Regions from separate parts of the Homo sapiens genome. Here region 2 is linked to region 1. The links are contacts of gene promoters, found by promoter capture Hi-C in human tissues and cell types (Jung and others, 2019). All regions are on one chromosome and are shown on one strand. The core of a region is centred on a gene start or on the middle of the fragment in contact, and the rest is flanking DNA. Distances in the headings are between cores, read along the strand shown. Region 1 holds the start of FN1 (fibronectin 1). Region 2 overlaps LINC00607 (long intergenic non-protein coding RNA 607).

Region 1 (3,152 bases), core at 356-2,855:
TGCATGAATAAAAACAAATGCTAATTTTGTGTCTTTAATGTGTCAGGCATTTTATAGAACACAGAGTTCTAATTACTCCTGTGGCAATTACTGAAGGTGAAACTTTTGGAGAAAATAGGTACCTTGCCGAAATAAATATATTTTATTAGTAGCTTCTTGTGTTTTAAAGCAAATGGAACCTCTGAACTCCTAACACAAGGAGAAGGCAAAGCATTCAGTTCGGGTCTCTCTGGATCTACTGTGGAAGTGGTGGACTCCTCCTTCTGAAGATCTTTAAAAGCAATTGTGCCTGTGTTTATCTGACAAAAAGGACTGATGTGATGTGTTGCTAAATGAGAGACTTTTCAGATTCCCTTTCCACTCTGAGTTTAGAGTTCAAGGCGGGGGAATCTTAAAGGAGAACTTTCCACACTCTTGGAGTAAATAACAATTGAAATATAAAAAATCTGGCGGCGGGGGATGGAGGGGGCATTCTGTAATGGAACTTGTCAGCAAAAAGAAAATGGCAAATAAATGTGAGAAAGGGGCCGAAGGAGGGCAAGACAGTACATAGGGTGCCCCCCACCCACCCGGCTTTTAATGATTCAAGCAAAAAAATCTCTGCTTTGTGTGTAACTGGCACGGTGAACGTGGGAAAGGACACGAAGACCTTTCTCTCCCCACAGCTGGTCCAACTTTCCAATTTTCAGGTTGTTCACAGTGATTTCACTTTCAGTGGAAACGGGCGTCCCATCCCCAGGAAAGGAAGGCTTTCCTGCATGTGTAAAAAAGTAAACTGTTACTTTGTCCTTGCAAAAGAAAACTTCATTCTCTGAACTTCCCCGGGATCTGCAAAGCGCCCCGCGGAACTCCCGGTACTTAGTAGAAGCTCATTAAAGGTCTCTGTTCCCCTTTGCTCCCCGTTCGCCCGCTGGCCCTTTCTCAGAGCCAGACAGGCACAGCGCTGAGAAGGGAAGAAGTCCGAACAGGGAGCTGTGAAGACAAAATAAGGGAGTCCCGAGTCAGTACCCTTTAGTCCAAAGAAAGGGAGCGGGATGGGGGGAAAGGCAGCCCCGCCCTGGGACTGAAAAGTCTGGATTCTTAACAGCTGCAAGGTCGTGGATATTTTATGGGTTTTCTTCCTCACAAAATACACTCCTATAAGCAGAGATTCCCCCCCTCCACCCCGAAGAGAGGTGACGCAATGTCCTCAAACACTACCACCACCCCCAATAAAAAAGAAAAGGGAAGGGGGAGCGTCTTGCAACCCCTTCGCTTCACACAAGTCCAGCCACTCCCTTTCCTCCCAGCCGCTTCCCATCCCTTCCCCCATCCCCTAAAAAGTTTGATGACCGCAAAGGAAACCGAAAAAAAGTTGTCTTGCCCCAGTCCTGGCGGGCCATCAGCATCTCTTTTGTTCGCTGCGAACCCACAGTCCCCCGTGACGTCACCCGGAGCCCGGGCCAATCGGCGCGCGGTCGGCTGCGGCGGCCGGCGGGCGGGCGGGCGGGTGGGGTGGGGCGGGGCGGGGACAGCCCGGCGGGTCTCTCCTCCCCCGCGCCCCGGGCCTCCAGAGGGGCGGGAGGGGACCGTCCCATATAAGCCCCGGCTCCCGGCGCTCGGACGCCCGCGCCGGCTGTGCTGCACAGGGGGAGGAGAGGGAACCCCAGGCGCGAGCGGGAAGAGGGGACCTGCAGCCACAACTTCTCTGGTCCTCTGCATCCCTTCTGTCCCTCCACCCGTCCCCTTCCCCACCCTCTGGCCCCCACCTTCTTGGAGGCGACAACCCCCGGGAGGCATTAGAAGGGATTTTTCCCGCAGGTTGCGAAGGGAAGCAAACTTGGTGGCAACTTGCCTCCCGGTGCGGGCGTCTCTCCCCCACCGTCTCAACATGCTTAGGGGTCCGGGGCCCGGGCTGCTGCTGCTGGCCGTCCAGTGCCTGGGGACAGCGGTGCCCTCCACGGGAGCCTCGAAGAGCAAGAGGCAGGCTCAGCAAATGGTTCAGCCCCAGTCCCCGGTGGCTGTCAGTCAAAGCAAGCGTGAGTACTGACCGCGGGCTGAAACAGGCTGCCTCAGGGATGGGACCCTAAAGCCGACCAAAGTTGGGGCTGAAGTTTTGTGCGCGCGCGTGTGTGCGAGTGTGTGCGCGCTTTACTGAGAGAAACCAGCTGTGCACACAAAAGGACCGAGTTTTGAGCACGCTGGTTCTGAGGGCCTGGGATGATAAGACCGTGCATTGGAGGACGAGGACTCTGCGACTTTCCCGTGTTCTAATAAATTCTGCACGTTCAGATTGTCCTTCTAGGAATTAACCAAAACTTGCCTTTAAAGAGAAAAATGATGCATGTCTATAAATTTTCCGTCTGGGATTAGTGTGGTCCTTACTGCTACTTATTTCCTTCTGTTAAATAATTGGTCAAATATTTTCAACATGGGGGTGGAAAGGGGGTATTGAAATAGCTGTCTTGTTTCTAACTAACTTGGAAGAGATGTAATTGGTTCAGACCTCTTTAGGGCCGCTCAGGATACTTCACCAAGAACAGAGGTTGGAATTCTTTCCGTTTTTCAAAGACACACCCTCCTTTTGCTTTGAGAAAGCTGCTTAAAGTTGTCCTTTTTGACTATTACTCCAAAAGAATATTTAAGTTCCTTGCATGTTTTAAAAATGTGACTTCAATTGTCTGCCTTCCAAAATGTTTCCAACTTTTTTATGTAGACCCCTGGCCAGATGGAAATGACATCATTGTATATAACTTTTAGCAAAGTTAAAAGGAAAAAAATATGTACGTCAATATTCACATGAAGAAAATTCCATAATTTTGGGAAAAGGAGAAATGCAAATGTAACGTTTTCCTTCAATTATTTGCAGCCGGTTGTTATGACAATGGAAAACACTATCAGATAAATCAACAGTGGGAGCGGACCTACCTAGGCAATGCGTTGGTTTGTACTTGTTATGGAGGAAGCCGAGGTTTTAACTGCGAGAGTAAACCTGAAGGTAAGTGACAACAAGCCCCATAGTTAGTATCTTTTAATACATGAAGTGGTAATTGTTAAACTTTGCATTAGTAAGTAAAAATACATACACCATTTTTCTAATAGAATTACCTGTCATTTCCTCTTAAGTTTAAAAACTGCTTATATTTGCTTTTCACATGCTTTTACCTTTAAAA
Region 2 (3,152 bases), core at 216-2,715, 270 kb before region 1:
ACTATGGCTTTTTTGTATACAATGCCTTAATTTTTTTTTTTTTTTAAATCATGTTCCTCTCTTCACCAAAAAAAAAAAAAAAGAAAGAAAAAAAATGGGGCCAGGGAAGATTCCCTATTGTTTACTTTCGATTTGGCCTTGAAGACCCCATGTTCTGGCTCCAACCTACTTTTCCCATTCTACCTATTTTTCTCTACTGCCCTACAAGAATCCTTTATTCCAGCCAGGCAAATCTATTTATCCTTTCCTGACACAAACATCATGCTTTTGTATATAGTGATTCTTATCTCTACCTAAAAGTAATCCACCCTGAAATCCTACATTAATGTCCTATTTTCTCCCTTAATATTTTGGAGAACCTGTTATGGTCTGAATATTGGTTCAAAATTTATATGTTGAAACCTAATTTCCAGTGCAACAGTATTAAAGAGATGGAGTCTTTAGGAGGCGATTAGGTCATGAGCTCAAAAATGGGATGAGTGCACTTACCAAAGAAACTCCGTGGCACTTGTTCACCCTTTCTGTCGTGTGAGGTCCCAGCAAGAAGGAGCCATCTATGAAGTAGATAATGAGTCCTCACTAGACACCAAATCTACTAGTGCCTTGATTTTAGACTTCCCAGCCTTCAGAACTGTGGGTAATAAATTTCTGTTTGTTTATTTATTTATTTATAGACAGGGTCTTGCTCTGTCACCTAGGCTGGTGTGCAATGGCACAATCACAGCTCACTGCAGCCTCAAACTCCTGGGCTCAAGTGATCCTCCCGCCTTGGTCTCCCAAAGTGTTTGGATTGCAGGTGTGAGCCACCGTGTCAGGCCAAATTTATGTTCTTTGGGTTTGGAGTCTGTCTCAGTCTGGTCCTGCTACTATAATAAAATATTTGAGAACAGGAACAGACTAAAACAGACCCTAAAGCCTACGCCTTGCCTGACCATTTCAACCTCAAAGATGGCTCTCTCCTTTATAGGTGCCTTATTTCCTCCAATGGCCCTAAGAGTGTCTTATGGAAAGATCATGCCTGCTTAATATGTCTGTGGTTCTCAGGATCCCTAGCGCAGTACCGAATGTTCCGTAGTCCCTCAAGTGTTCATCAGTTTCCTAACTGGGGTGAGTTTGTAAGACTTTACATGCTCCACCATGTTGCAGCAGAGACAGCCGGGATGAAGTTCCCCTTCCTTTTGGAGCTTGGCTGTTCAGATTCCTTTGAATGCAGTGATGCTTTATGGGTGCATATAGCTCTGACTTTGCAAATCACCTCCAGAAACAGCACTGTGTTTATCAGCAATCACGCAACACACGTTCCTCAGATAAGGACATAGCTTACTTCCCGCTTTAGTGTTTAAAGATACAGTTCATTGGTTGCTGGTATTATCTTCTAAAAGAAAGAGAATTAAGTACTTTTCTCCAAACACTCTGGACAAACTTGAGAATATATGAATTTCGCATGTTTCCTGTCCTTCAGCCCAATATTCTAAATGTGATATCTGCTAATAAAAGTATTCAATGTTTACAAAGAAAAACGGTGTCTTAGATTACCTCAAACAGTGAATAATCGTGCTTATACAATTATTCATTGTTTTTGAGAAAACATTGAGATTTGAGAAAAACATGTCCTTCTAAACATAAGTTTCAAAATTAATTGCAACTGAGCAGAAAACCCACAGTAACTTGAACTTTTAATTTTAAATGTTGTAATTGGGTGCCTAGTGCTGAGAAGAAAATTGGTTTGTGGCTTTCAGGGAAATCACAGAGTATATTACATATTTAAATTTTTTAAGCCCCAAGAAGACTGTTTTTATAAAAACAGATAATGTATTGATTTGTGTTTAGTTGTTAAAATGAAATAGAATTGAATAAATCTCAGATAGCTTGAATACCTTGAAATAGTCAAGATATTTACGTATATTATATTTATAACTACGTTTTTATGTATAAATGCTTTACGTAAAGGTGTGTGTGTGTGTGTGTGTGTGTGTGTAAATGTGTTGATGTGTATTTATTATCTGATTTGAACATATTATATACCAAATAGCTGCATGGCATCAGGGATGCACAAATTATGTATTCATAAACCACATGTCAGAATTGCCTTAGACATAGACAAGATTGAACTGAACTTCATTTTGCTATTTGTGGGACATCCAATGCCTTTGGGGGTGACAAACATCAAATTGAAGATGGGGGTTATATCTAGAGTGGGGTGGGAGGGAAACAATATTGAAGAAACACAGGGAGCTTCAAATATATTGATAATGTGTTTCTTAGGCTGGCTGGTGTGTGTACCTGGAAATTTATTGTATTTATCCTTTTATTTTTTTGCATGACTTAAATGCTTTTTAATAAAACTTTTAAATGCCCAATTCCTTCTTCAGAATTTTGTGAATTCATAGGTGTCTTATGCTTTTGTGCTTACCTCTGATTCCAGCATTCTGCTTCTACTGCATGTGTGCTGTGTGAGAAAACTTTCCACCATGCTGATTGGGTTGTCTTCTCTCCACAGTGGCTCAGTGGAGACATGAAATTGAAATTCAGCACTTTTCCTTGGTTTAAACACAGGCTGATCCCACAAATGCAGTAGTATTAAAGTTTGCAGATATAGAAGCATTTATATCTTAAAAATGAAAGCAACTTAAAATTTGCTGCTGCCGCTCAGAAAGAGCTTCTGGCCTTTCTACCTCTAGGGATGTTATCACCAGCACTCCTGGCCTAGGCAGCATCCTGAACTTTCCCATCCTGTGTTGGCTCTGTTTCATCTTCCTCATTCTTTCCCTTCCAAGTTGCATTCAAGAACTCCAAATTCTTTTTGCTCTATTATTGAAGAACAATTTTGGTCTTTCCCCTCTCAATTCCTGACACCACATTATAGGCATTGAGTAAATATTTGTGGAAGATGAATACAACTCAGTTCCTGGCCCACTTGCTCATGTCCAAAACCCACAAATCTCCTCAAAGTTTCTATTATATAAATAGCAAAGGCCTGGAAGAAGTCCTGACGTTTCTTTTTATAGGTGCTAATCCCTTCAGAAGGAATTGCAGTTTCGAGTAGTAATTTTTCATTTTCTCATATGTTGAGGCCCCAACCTCCAGAACCTTAGGCTGTGACTATATTTGGAGATTGGGCCTTTGAAGAGGTGATTAAGTTAAAATGAAGA

Evidence for each region. Contacts are between HindIII fragments. The study calls those that stand out against the background at their distance.
Region 2: a contact is called between a fragment that was not itself captured here and the fragment with the promoter of FN1 in region 1, in 1 of the 25 tissues and cell types used here (IMR-90 fibroblasts).

The regions. Positions count from the first base shown.
Region 1 is chr2:215,434,521-215,437,672 of GRCh38, reverse strand. It overlaps FN1 (fibronectin 1), which reads left to right and starts at 1,605. Exons shown (of 46, transcript NM_212482.4): 1 at 1,605-2,018; 2 at 2,849-2,977. The coding sequence starts at 1,871. It overlaps FN1-DT (FN1 divergent transcript), which reads right to left and starts at 1,982. Exons shown (of 2, transcript NR_187198.1): 1 at 1,364-1,982; 2 at 1-754. RefSeq lists silencers at 1,422-1,511, 1,522-1,581 and an enhancer at 3,094-3,152. The HindIII fragment of the contact is 6,677 bases long and covers 1-3,152 here.
Region 2 is chr2:215,705,911-215,709,062 of GRCh38, reverse strand. The region is part of intron 5 of LINC00607 (long intergenic non-protein coding RNA 607); the gene reads left to right. All of the region lies in intron 7 of LOC102724861 (a long non-coding RNA gene), which reads right to left. Among named protein-coding and RNA genes, the nearest start is that of LINC01614, 11 kb to the left of the region's middle. The HindIII fragment of the contact is 7,643 bases long and covers 1-3,152 here.